3 separate regions of the Homo sapiens genome follow, and all the other regions are linked to region 1. Evidence: promoter capture Hi-C in 16 types of primary human blood cells and fetal thymus (Javierre and others, 2016). All regions are on one chromosome and are shown on one strand. The core of a region is centred on a gene start or on the middle of the fragment in contact, and the rest is flanking DNA. Distances in the headings are between cores, read along the strand shown.

The links. The method cuts DNA at HindIII sites, captures the fragments that hold promoters and counts their contacts. A CHiCAGO score of 5 or more calls a contact.
Region 2: the fragment with the promoter of ZXDB here is called in contact with the fragment with the promoter of APEX2 in region 1 in 2 of 17 cell types (total B cells and M0 macrophages); the score reaches 9.4 in total B cells.
Region 3: a fragment that was not itself captured here is called in contact with the fragment with the promoter of APEX2 in region 1 in 8 of 17 cell types (fetal thymus, monocytes, total B cells and 5 more); the score reaches 11.0 in fetal thymus.

Annotation. Positions count from the first base shown.
Region 1 is chrX:54,998,088-55,002,491 of GRCh38, reverse strand. APEX2 (apurinic/apyrimidinic endodeoxyribonuclease 2) reads right to left here and starts at 2,129. Exons shown (of 6, transcript NM_014481.4): 1 at 1,913-2,129; 2 at 863-946; 3 at 61-241. The coding sequence starts at 2,069. It also overlaps a transcript of PFKFB1 not described here. RefSeq lists a silencer at 2,109-2,248. The HindIII fragment of the contact is 4,396 bases long and covers 1,414-4,404 here.
Region 2 is chrX:57,589,563-57,593,966 of GRCh38, reverse strand. It overlaps ZXDB (zinc finger X-linked duplicated B), which reads right to left and starts at 1,956. Exons shown (of 1, transcript NM_007157.4): 1 at 1-1,956. The coding sequence starts at 1,918. RefSeq lists silencers at 1,079-1,268, 1,329-1,618. The HindIII fragment of the contact is 4,972 bases long and covers 1-3,106 here.
Region 3 is chrX:52,997,761-53,002,164 of GRCh38, reverse strand. No RefSeq gene overlaps it. Among named protein-coding and RNA genes, the nearest start is that of FAM156A, 41 kb to the right of the region's middle. The HindIII fragment of the contact is 8,235 bases long and covers 1-4,404 here.

The DNA of each region.
Region 1 (4,404 bases), core at 880-3,379:
TCTTCACACTCAAAGAGTAGCACCAGCAGTGCTCAGTAGCAGGGAGATATGAGCTATTACCGGATCTTATGCTGTGTGAGGAGGGCCCTGCCCTCACTATCCAGAGCCCGGAGTTCCTCTTGGGTAAACTCATCCATGTTTCCATAGCAACCAACATCCCCATTCTGGGTGGCAAACAGGCCACTCAGGCCTTCTTCAGCAGCCACTGGGGTAGCATTGTCCTTACAGAAGGTGGCTACACCTGGGAACAGACAGGGCACTCTGAGCAGACCTGGCAGTCAATAGCCTGTTGCACAGCCTGTCCCACTCCAATTGTCCCCACACAAGTCATCTAAGTCATCTTCATAAAGTGTGGTTCTTGGGCAACCTTATTCAAACCCTGGAGTCTCAGTTCCTACATCTAAAAAAGCCACAGAATGTTCTAAGTGTTTTACATTGATACATGGTGAGTGCTCAAGACGTATTAGCAATTATTATTATCACATGGATTAATTCATTTAATCCTTGTAACAGCCCCGGAAGGTAAACATTATCCTCATTTTCTAGCTGAGGAACCTGAGGCACCAAGAGGTAATGTAACTTGCCAGAGGGTGCACAGCTAGGAAATGAGCCATGATTCAAACCCAGGCTGTCTGGCTCCACAGTTCACACAATTAAGCACCACACTACTACTGTACTTCTGAGGTCCAGTAGGATAATTCTATCCATAAAAATTATATTTCATGTAATTTACTATTATGCAGCTTTAGCTCTGTAAACTAAATGTCTAAGATTTCTTATTACCCTCTCATCAAATATTGGAAACCCTTTTCCCCTATCTGCCTCCCTCACTAATTTAAAGTCCACAGAAAGCCCCATTTACCAGAATAGCCGCTACGGTTGCGGCTGAAGCTGAAATAGGAGTTATAACCCTCAACGATAGCCAGGGGCTCTGTCAGTGCATCCCCTGGAAAAAAAAAATGTAAGATTAAGTCAGAGGTAAAACTAGCATCCGAGAAACACAAAGGCCTGGAATTACAGTTGTAGGCTAATTCCTTGCACACATCAGAGCCAGAGTTGGGGGTGACGGGAATGAAATATCCATGATTAGAGGAGGACCTAGAAAGATGGGAAATGTCAGAGAGGAAATTGATATCAGAATTAGAAGGCTTGGTGGGGGGCGGTTAGAGACTATGAAGTGGAGGTGGAGAATTAGGTGGGAAGGGGAAAGAATCAGAGCTAAGCCTGGGGGTCTGAACGATAGGAGGAAGCTGGGGATGGGGATGGACATACGAGAGGATGGTGGGAATCTGAGCTAAGGGTGAGAGGTAAGAGAGAGGGAATTAGGGGATCTGAACTGGGGGTGGAGGGAAAAGGAATTAGGGGATTCTGAGGGGAGATAAGAGGGTGAAGAAATAAGAGGACATCTAAGCTTGGGGTGGGAAATGAGGTGGGAATTAGGGACTTTCCGCTGGGAGGAGAGATGGGAATAGATAAGGGGTACTGGGGTTCTGAGGTGGAAATGTGAAAAAGAGGAAATTAGACTGAGCTGGGGTCAAAGATGGGGTGGGAATTAGAGGATCTGAGCTTGGGGCAGGGATGAAGAATTCGGGGGTTTGACTTGGCGGCGGGGAGATGGACAGCGTATGGAAGGAGGAAATTCAGGGGACTGAGTTTGGGGCCGGAGAATGAGTGGGAATCTGACTAGATATGGGGTTTCGAGAAGGAGCTAAAGTTTGCTGAAGACAGGAGATGGAGTGCAATTAGGGGATCTAGCTAGGGTGGGAAATGGAAGTTTAAGAGGGAAGGGACCTGGGTCTAAGGACAGGACTCTAAGAATAGGAAACTGGGAAAGTAAAATTACATGGGACAGGGGACAAAAGTTAGCGGGAAAGAAAAAGTATGTAGGGATCCTGGAATCCAGAGCGCTCACTGGTCACTTTGGTTTCCTGGAGACAGACGATATCCGCATCCAGCTCGTCCAAAATGCGCCCCACGGCCACGGCGGCACAGTTGCTGGGTTCCTGATTTGCCACCCCTTGCAGGGGTCTCCGAATCCCATTGATGTTCCAGCTCACCACGCGCAACATCTTAAAGGGCTGGAACACCTCCCAGCCCGCGCCAACCTAGGCGCGAGCGAACTGCTTCCTGTTCAGAAGTTGGCCAGGCCCGCCTCCCGCGCGCGTTTGCGCAGGCGTTCTCGTGCGTACCACTAAAGCGCCTGACGCACGTCGGGCGGGGGCTTCAACTTCCTCAGCTCTCATTGGCGGGAGGAGGAACTGGGTGGACGCTGAAGGAAGCAAAGCGGAAGCCTAGGGGCAATGAATGGCGAGAGGAGTTTCCAGTTGGGCTCCCGCTCCTTCCGCTCGGACAGCTGAGTCTCAATGCGTTTTTCCTCTACTCAGAAGTCCAAGTGGTGCGTCCGGTTACTTACAAACGGCATTTTGCCACTTTTTAAGCGACGGAACCCTGAGCGGAACTGCTCAGCTGCCAAAGCCCCGCCCTCAGTGCGGCGGACCGCCCACCTAAGTTCACAGATGGCTGCAGCGCTTGCGCCCCAGGAATAGCTGGCGCTAAGTGCTCGCGTTGGACTGGGCAAAGGGAAGTTCATGGTTGGAGGAGGGAGCAGTAAGAGTCGCTCCACTGAGATAAGACTTAGGAGGAGGGCCTTTGGCTTTATTGGGGCAGAGGGGAGGAGGAGGAGGCTGTCTCAAGCCTGCCCTGTAGCTTTTGTCTTGGCTCTTAACATTCTGAAGGATGTAGCCGGACACATCCTTACTCTTGGTTCTGTTTCTCAGATAAGTGAAATCGAAGCCCAGGAAATGTAAGCTCGTGAGCAGCATTGTCTCCGGATGCATCCATGGCTCTTCTGTATATGTTATCTCATTTCATTCTCAAGACAACCCAGTTCGGGACATGGAGGCTAAGTTAGAGACGTCGAATGAATTCATTTCATTCTCACAGTTCACTCTCTCTTACACTGAAGTAGTAGAGCCAGGATTCACACCCTGTCTTAATTAGCTCAATAATTACTTTTCTGAGTGTTTTTACTGACCACACACCTCCCCAGTTAAGTCTTTTCCTCTGGGGCCCCACGGCACCCTATGGTCCATTCTGTCACAGTACTTATAATACACAGCTATCATTGACTTCTATTTCTGCTGCCATTAGAATGCCAGCAACTTGAGAGCAATGACCATGTCTGGTTCATCTTGTTAGCCCCATCCCCTAATACTGGACACAGCATATGTTGGGAAGCAATAGATATTTGTCAGGTGAATGAATGAACAAAGGATAATAGCAAGAGCATCGACAGGTTCATGGCTTGTTTTTGAGAGCACAAAAATTAGAAGTAATGGATATGCCCAATGTCCAGGGAAAAGCATAACGATGCATCTTTAGGTTCCTCACCCAGAATTGCAGCATAATTATTTGTTCCCCAGAATTTAAGTCTTAGAGCCATCATCCTCAATGGTTACAGCAAAGACGCAGTAAACTGCTTTTCCTCCTGGAGGACTTAAAAGGTTACCAGTTGTTGCTATCAGAAAATAGCTCTGTGATTAAAATAAAAATTTGCATGTCCTGAGCTTCTTCATGCTTTGGGAGTTATTGACTCAGGATTGACTCCCATGAGTGCGATAACTAGGACAAAGGAAATGAACATTTTTATTGCTCTTGCTTCATATTGCCAGATTGCTTTCCAGTAAGGGATTATGCCCATTTACACTGAAGATCGATCTGAAACTCAGCACCAGCGAAATCCAGAACTTGCCTGTCTCCATGGCTGGTTTTAATTTCCCCATTCTGCAGTGGCTTGTTAATATTAGTTCTGACCTTTGGGGCAAGGTGAACACATGGTTGGACTGAAGAGAAAAGGCTTCTGGTGGCTCAGGAACGTCTTTGGCAACTACAACAGCTGATATTTCAACAGAGCACATACATCCCCCACTTAACAAGGGTACGTCCTCAGCCTTCTCAGGGAACCAACGAACACCTCCAGGCTTCCTCTTTGATGCCACCCACTGGACCTGCCTTGGGGGTCTGTAAATGCAAGAGAACCGAGTGTTGGATAATTAGCGATGGAAGAAAAAACCTCTAGAATAAAAGGTAGGTGAGAAAGAAGGGAAAGTAGGCAGGAGTTGCACAAATCCACATCCATTCTTCAGGCCCTCTGGAAAGTTTTCTTTGCATAGATGGTTGGTTGTCGTGTGCATTAAAGGGCATGGGAAAGTGGGGGAAAAGATTATATCTATATGTAACCTATTTATCTGTCTGTATATTTTTAAAAGTCCATTCTGGCCTTTATGGGACACTGGCCCCCAGGGCAATTCACTAGCACCTGTGAAAGTCTCTCTAACTTGGTCAAGTCTGGTTTTGAATGAACTGAGTGATTGAGATTATAGCTCTTACCTCCCCACTGATGTG
Region 2 (4,404 bases), core at 707-3,206, 2.6 Mb before region 1:
CAGAAGCCACATCAATAGTCAAGATTCCAGAGTTCACCAATGCTGTGTCCAGCAATGCAGCAGAAGTACTGTCAGGTACATCAGAGAAGAGAGACACTATCTCTGCATCACTGAGATCATTCTGTCTCTGGCTGGTAAGTTCACTGCTGGGTGTGAGAGAATTTGCTGCTTCTAGCTGAGCTAAGAGATCCTGGCCCACCTTATGCCTTTTAACCATGTGCGTCTTCATGCTGTGCTTGGATGTGAAGAGTTTATTACAAGAGGAGATCGGGCAACGGCTTTTCCAAGTGTCCACATCCTGCAGGTGTTTCTTGGAGTGAATGTAGAGGCTACTGCGAGCAGAGAACCTGGCACAGCAGCCTGCCACAGGACACACGAAAGGCTTTGTGCCCAGGTGGGTTATGCTGTGGCCTTTCAGATGTTCCGCCCTCGTGAAAGATTTCCCACAGCCTTCCACAGGGCACATGAACCTCCGGTCATCGTCGTGCTTTCTTTTGTGCCTTAAGAGTTTGGACATGCTAGTGAAGTTCCAGCCACAGCCATCAAAGTCACAAAGGAAAGGTCTCTCGCCGGTGTGACTCCGCAGGTGAATTTTCAGCCTACAAGCCTTGTCATATTGTTTGCTGCAGCCAGGAAAAGAGCAGGAAAACAGTTCCTGTTCCCTGAAATGGGCGCGGTTATGGGAAAACAGAGCACTCACTGTGATAAATGTCTTCTTGCAGCCAGAAAACGCGCACTGGTAAGGCCTCTCCGGTTCGAAGTGGCTGCGCTGGTGGGCGCTGAGTTTGGCCTGCGTGGGGAAGCTCTCCTCGCACACCTCGCATTTGAATGAGTTCTCCTGCTCATGGCCCTTCATGTGCGCCTTGAGGTTGTACACTGTGGTGAAGCTCTTGCCACAGCCCTCTGCCGGGCAGCCAAAGGGCCGCAGTTTGTCGTGCGACTGCAGGTGCCTCTTGAGCTTGTAAGAGGTGGTGAAGGTCCAGCCGCAGCCACCCAGGGGGCATTTGAAGGGCCTCTGGCCCTGGCTGCTGCTGTGCGTCAGCAGGTGCACCTTCAGCTGGTGCTTCTTGGCGAAGGTTTGCCCGCACTGCGCCTCGGGGCACAAGTACAGCACCACGCCTGGGCCGGAGCCCAGCGGTCCGCGGGGGCCCAGGGCGGCGGCCGGGCCCTCCGCCTCCTCCTCAGGCGCCGGAGCTGGCGCGGGTTCGGCCGGCTCAGCTAGCAGGAGGTCTGGCGGCAGCTCTGGGCAGTCACCCGGGTGCGCGGCATGCGGGAACCCAGCTTGCGGGGCGATCAGACACCCGGGCTGCTGGGCAGGAGCGGCCCCTGGCTCCCAGGCGTGTGGTGGGGGCGTGGCCAGGGTGAGGACGCCGTTCTCAAAGCGCAACAGCAGGTCCTGGTTGTGGATAGTGACTGTGCCCGCGAAGGCCGCGGCGGGGCCGGGGGCGGAGATCGGGGCCGGAGTGGGAACCGCGGACAGGCAGCGGGGGCCTAGCGCAGTGGGCCCCGCGGGATTCGCGCCGCTCTCGCCCCCCTGGAGCCCCGGGCCCTCCTCGGCCTCCTCCCTCAACACAGGCCCTGCGGCCTGACCGGAGCCCGCGGTCTCCACGTCGCCACCCACCGGGTCAAGCAGCACCAGGAAGAAGTCGTCGCCGCCGCCGCCGCCGCCGCCGCTAGGTTGATCGGTCCTCGGCGCCAACAGGCTTGGGCCAGGGCCCCGTGATGCCGTGCTGGCCTCCTCGCGCCGCCGCCCGGGCCCGCCATCTTGGGGGCCCCGGAGCAGCAGGAGGCGGCGCGTGGGGACCTGGCCAGCCGGCGAGTCAGGGCCTCGGTGGACTCGGCCGCCACCCGCGGGGATACCGCCGCCGCCGCCGCCCTGTAGTGTCCCGCGAGCCGGGAGCAGCTTCGGGATTTCCATCTCTGCGTCCGAGAGGCTCGGCTGGAACCAGAGCCGAGGAGGAGGCGCGATCCCGCCCCCTGCCGCGGGCCTGAACACGTTCCTGAAAGGGGAAAAAAAAATGTGCAATGCGCAGAAACTGGCCCTATCAGATATTAAAACGTATTTAACGCCACAGTGATTTAAATATTCTGGTACTGGGTCTCTGGAACAGAATAGAAAGCCCAGAGGTAGAGCCTGGTATGCATAAATACGTTCTACAGTTAATATAAGTAAGTAATTAAGGGGGTCTTCTGAGGTAATGGGGAAATGACGACAGCTTGTTCAGTAATGCTGTGGAACACCTAGGTATCTATCCGCTGGAAGCAATTTTAATCCATGACTCATTGTATATACCCAAATAAACACACCCCAGCCCCTCCCAGTGTTAGATATGTTGCTTCGTACTTTCTGTGTGTTAAAATTTGCTGGCTGGCTGGCTGGCTGGACTGATGGATGAAAGACAATTCCTGAGAGAAAAAACTGTCTCTGTGTCAGCATTAAACCACCATAGCGCTGGCAGTTCTGCTGAAAATGTCCTTCCCCTTCCCACCTCCCCGCGGGACAACTTCCATATTCACAATTATCTTGAGCAAAGTCTTCGGTACAATTTGCCGCATAGTTCAAATTTTGTCTTGCTGATACAGACATTAGAATGAGTGAGAGATGCGGCCAAAACAGGTTAGCACTCTTCAGCCTAGAAATTCAAAGTCTGGAGGATGAAACAATTTACACTGAAATCTGGAAAAAACCCAACCTTCTCCTGGCTTCTCCCTATACAGTGCACAACCTAAACCAACTTTTGCCCTTCCACCATCGGTTGTACTGTGATAAATTTCATGTCTGCTCTCACAGCACAATGAGGGCATTCATTCCTCAGTTTACTCTGCCTTCTCCAGCACGTGGAGGTCTCTGGGCAGGAGTTTCAGTTAAATGTGTTTAGGTTAAATCCTGAGTCACTGCAATGGATTCTGCCAAGTAAAAGGCACAGACGATCTTGTCCAATCAACCTGGTGTACCTGTTCACATTTAAGTGTGGTGGCCCAGGCTTGCTGGGCCTGTGGTGCCTAATGATCTTATTAATGATGATGACAATCCTTCATTTTGTCCGTTACGACTGAGTTGGGAATTGACACAAATATAGGGTGAAATATCTGAGATAAGAAAGCTTAGAGTAATGACTAGATTGGTGGTGGTGGGGGAGCGGGGTGTAACCTGTTGTTTAAATACTCCCAGCTCTCTCGCCCTCTTTTAATGACAGTGGACACTTGGTCTCTTGAAAATCAAGCTATTCATCCATAACTATTTGAACCTCATCAAAATGTCTACTCCACATACTTTTCTTTCTATTACTTTTTCTGGTGGAAGCATTTTTCAAATCTGAGGTATAGAAGAGTGCATAAAACATATTTGTATCGTTTAGATTATTTTACAAAAGCAGACACCTGTGTAACCAGGACCAAGGTCAAGCAATAGACCACTGCCAGCCTTCCAGAATACAGCCGCTGTACTCCTCCCAATCACAACCCACACTCTCCTATATGAATATAGTCATTGCCCTGACTTTGTAATAATCATTTCACTGCTTTCCTTTATAGCTTTATCACTTTTGTACGCATCCGTAAACAATAGAGTTGATACGAAGTTGTATAAATGGAATCATACGGCAAGTTTCCTTTTATAACTTGTTTCTTTCACTCTGTATTATACTTGAGACTCATCCATGTTGTTCATAATAGTTATAAGTAAGTAGATCCTTTGTCTCCATCGACTGTCGTTCCAGCATATGCTTATAGCAAAGTGATTATGGTATGATTATACCACTCCATTCTACAGCAGATGAACATTAGGATTGCTTCTATTTTTCAGCGATTATTATGAACATTCTTGCACATTTCTCATGGGACACATGTGTAAAAATCTCTCTAGGGTATATATCCAAGAATAGAATCACAGGGCCATAGGGTATGGATATCCTGAGCTTTACTAGATGATGCCAAATTGTTCTCTGTAGTGATTGGGCAAGCTGTCAATCCCACCAGCAGCACAGAGAGCCCCTACTGCTCCACATCTTCACCCACACCAAGTATTGCCAGAATTTAAATTTTGCCAGTCTACTGGTGGGCAATACCCAAATTACTAGTAAGCTTTAGCACATTTTCGTGTTTATGAGCCTTTTGGAGTGTCTACTCCGAAGAAGGCCTATTCAAATTTACCTCTTTTAACCCATGTTTCTATTCTATTGTTCATCTAGTACTTACTGACTTAATGAGCCTGTTAAATATTTTAAATACTAGTCCATACCTGTGGCCAAAATATTCCCTTGTTCTGTTTGTATTTCCCATTGCTTTGTGCTGTGTTTTGTGAACAGAAGATCTTAATTATAATATAGTCAAATTCATCATTCTTTTCCTGATGGTTAGTGTGTTTTTGTTTTAAGAAATCTGTTTTAAGAAATCTTTTCTGTT
Region 3 (4,404 bases), core at 1,246-3,745, 2.0 Mb after region 1:
CCAGTGATCACTGACTATGAATGGACATTTAGAGGTTTTCCCTGATTGTTTGCTACTATCTTCCTTGTATACTAAGCTCTGTGCTATGTGTATGTTTCTTCATTATACATTCTTTTAAGTGGAATTGCTAGGGAAAAAGAGTTCAGCCATTCAACAACCATGCAGTGAGTGCCTGCTGTGTGGTGGGCACTGGAGAGACTGAGGAAACTGGATAGGAAAATGCCCCTGCCCTCATGGATGTAACATTCTAAGGGCTTACATATAAGGATTTTTCATTTTGATAGATGCTGCTCTGATGTTATTCATCAGTGGTGCAGGAGAAGAAAAGTTTGTTGACTGGCATAGTCACACCACTCATGGGGCAGGAGCTCTGTGGCAGTGGACTCGATGCTTAGACCTTTGCTCCCTTTAAGATCTTCAGGGTCTGGTGATAAGACTTTATCTGGGTGTGTTGTTGGGGAGAGAGGGAGAAAAAGATGGGGAAGGGCTGGTCTACTAGTAATACAGTGGAGGAAGGTGGGAATAAAAGTCTACTTAGCTGTGTGGAAGAGTGGCTGGGCACAGTTAGAAATGCAGTCTTGGCCGAGTGCAGTGGCTCATGCCTGTAATCCCAGCACTTTGGGAGGCTGAGGCGGGCGGATCACCTGAGGTCAGGAGTTCTAGACCAGCCTGGCCAACATGGTAAAACCCCGTCCCTACTAAAAATACTAAAAATACAAAAATTAGCCGGGTGTGGTGGTGTGCGCCTGTAGTCTCAGCTACTCCGGAGGCTGGGGCATGAGAATCACTTGACCTGGGAGGTGGAGGTTGCAGTGAGCCGAGTTCGGCCACTGCACTGCAGCCTGGGCAACAGAGCGAGACTCCATCTCAAAAGCAAAAACAGAAAGAAAGAAGAAGAAGAAAAAAAAGAAATGAAAGTCTTGGGCCCCTCCCCAGACCCACTGAATCAGAAACTCTGAAAGGTGAGGCCCAGCAATCTGTGTTTTAACAAGCTCTCTAGGTGATTCTTGATGCACACTAAAGTTTGAGAACCATTAGAGTAATCCACAGGACCTAAGTATGAAATAGCTGGCCCCTCTTGGATCTCACCTCCTGTGAGTGTGCAGCTGGGGATGAGGCGTGGAGGATGTAACATACCATTGCGGGTACCGGAAATGAACACACCATTATGCGAGATACCATAGGGGAAGGGAGCTTCTATTTTGTAAGAATACAAATGCTGTGTGTGGAGGGACAATAAAGCCCACCCCCGCCCACCAACGAAATCAGCCCCACCTTTCGACAGTAGGGCGGGCGCGGCGGCGAGCGCCCCAGGCGGCAATCCGTCCTCCTGGTTTCCACCCAGGCCCAAGCTGACACCCATTCTCCGACTTCTCGGAGACCCCTCTAGTCCCATTTTTGGCCACGCCCGTCTCCGTTCTACAGATCTGAATAAATTAGGAACCTGCAAAGGGGCAGTCGATCGGTTGTGGGACGATCAAGGCAGGAAGGCATCAAGGACCGCTCTGGGAAGCTCACCTAGAGAGTGCGGCTCTTACAGAGTACAGCGGGATGCACTCGTAGAGCCGGGTCCCTGGGTCTTCGCGCTCGCGCACGGTCAGGCACAGTGGCTGATGGGCGGAAGTTCGTAAAGCGGAGCCTGGGCTTTAAGGACTGGATGACCAGTGGGATCCAGTCTTCAAGACTTGGACTGTTGTTCAGTATGAGGCTAAAGATGCTTCCCAAGTCACAGGCAGGGCTTAAGTGAGACCACTCGCAAGGGGTCATCTGGCGCTCAGTGCGCAGGGCTCTAAGTTTTAGGTCATCACAGATCTGACTTGCAGTGTCCCAAGCACTTCTTTCTTATGTGCCATCTCATTTAATCCCCACTAGCACCTTTGGAAGAAAGCCCTGTCACCTCTGTCGCTGATGAGGACACTGGAGCGCCAAGAAGGCAGATCCCTGGCTGGGGCCCTCCAACCAGGGTGGGGCAGAGCTGGGGCCAGATGACAATTCCCGGAGGACCGCAGTTGGGACACTCCCAGCGCTCATGCTGCCCCTGTCCCTCCCAGGGTCCCTTCTCTGTCCTCACAGACCCAGCTGGGCAGTGTCCTCCCATCTCCTGAGGTGACACTCACCCCAGCGCCTCCTTCAGGAATCCCACCCCGCCCCCTCCAGCCCTAGGCGAATTGCCCTGGACTCTCAGTCTGGGTCTGGAGTTTCATCTGGATCTGGGAGACATTTCCAGTTCTGCCCTAACAGGGATGTTGTGACAGAAACCTGTGTGGGGGCAGGAGAGATATCTGTCCTGCAAAATGGTCTGCACTTTCAGGAAGTGCAGGGAGGGTCCTGAGGGGGTCCTCTGAGGTAGGCCTAGGTGCCGGGTGAGAGGACCGAAGTGGGCGTGAGAGGGTATAACTGAGGCCCCATGACTAGGGCTGGGGTAGGGAGGTAGAGGTCCGTGGTGGAAGGGGAGCCCTGGTGGCTCACAAGGGTGGGGAGCTGGGGAGAGAGAGGAGGTGTGGCAGCTGCCAATTGGAGAGGAAGTTTGGGAGAAAGGACCAGAATGCTCAGAAGGGCCATAATGGGGGTTGCCATTGGCAGTGTGAAGGGAGGACCTCTACTCTCTCTCCAAGATCCAGTTCCCCACAGTGGGTGCTGAGAGATGGCAAAGATAACGGGGTCTAGGGGTCTCCTACTGTGTTCTGGGATTTACCCTGAAGCCCCCATGGGGCAAGATACAAAAGTCACCAGGACCAAAGGTGATCAGGGTTGGTCAGACGATGGCCATTCCTGGGAGCCAGATATGAGAGCTTACTCTCTGATCCCCTCAGTCCCAGAGGGTCCTTCCCCATCCCTGGTGTGAACCTGCCTTCCTCATGACAACAACGGTGGTGACTGCAGACTGTGGGGAACTACAAGATCCAAGGCCTCCCCATAACAGTGTTGGATGGCACAGAGATTCAGCATCACACAGCAGCCCTGAGCTGATTCTTTGTGGGTATGTGTACCAGGGTGTAGCTGGTAAGCTCTTTGTGGGTTGGTGTGTGAGGTCCTTGAGTTATTGTGAGCTGTTACCTTGAGGTAGGAATTCTCTGAGCTGGTTGGGGGTCTGTGTCCTGAGGTGTGGCATCTTTGAGCTGTTTGGTGGTTGGTGTCTAGGGTGAGAGGTCTCTGAACTGCTTGTGGGCACTGTCCTAAGGCATGAGATCTTTGAACATTTTTGTGGGAGGTCTTTGTCCAGAAGGTTAGGTCTCCGAGCTGCTCATATATCAGGATATTTTTGTGAGGAAGGCAGGATGGTCCTTTCTCTCACAGGGGTAGAACAAGGTGCCCTGGTATCAGAGAGATGAAAACATAGGATCCTTATCCTTAGGGAGGGCAAGTCCTCAGTGTAGCATGTAGGAGCCAGTGGTACAAATACTAATGACAATGTCTGCAGACATTAACCCCATCCTTGCTCAGGGCCGACCCCTGTGACAAACCCATGTAACCCATGTTAACTCAATCTGCCAAATTGCCAATGAGGAGCTCACCATTTGCAGATGAGGAGGCTGAAGCCAAGTGAGGGTAGGGCCTGTGCTCACACAGTCCTCATGAAGAGGGAGGAACTGGCTGTAACTTGGACTCACTGGAGGAGACAGGGAAAGGCTCAGGCACAGCCGGGGTCAATGGGAGATGACAAGGAAAGGGGAAAGGAAGAGGTTTGCCCAGGGCCTCAAGGGCCCCATCACTGACTCACTGGTGGGAGGTCTGCCTCTCTGTCTCTCTGTCGCACACCCTGCTTGGTAATGGATGTTGAGAATGCAATCCTCACGTTACCTGTGGAAGTGGTGGCATGAGGTAAAGAGTGGGGAAATACCACAGATTCATCCATTGGCATGAGGTCCACCAGCAAATGTAGAGATTCCTACCTCTTCTTCCCCCTTGAAAGAATTTTTTTCAGGCCAGGCATGGTGGCTCACGCCTGTAATCCCAGCACTTTTGGGAGGCCGAGGCAGGCAGATGGCTTGAGCCCAGGAGTTCAAAACCAGCTTGGGCAACATGGCAAAACCCTGTCTTTACAAAACATATAAAAAAAAATCAGGCCGGGCATGGTGGCTCATGCCTGTAATCCCAGCACTTTGAGAGGCCAAGGCAGGTGGATCACTTGAGGCTAGGAGTTTGAGACCAGCCTGTCCAACCTGGCGAAACCCTGTCTCTACTAAAAATACAAAAATTAGCCGGGCATGGTGGTGCATGCCTGTAATCCCAGCTACTCGGGAGGCTGAGGCATGAGAATCGCTTGAGCCCAGGAGGTGGAGGTTGCAGTGAGCCGAGATCACACCACTGCACTCAGCCTCGGTGACAGAGGGAAACTCTGTCTCAAAGAAACCAAAACCAAAACAAAAAAATCAGCTGGGCATGGTGGCGTGCACCTATAGT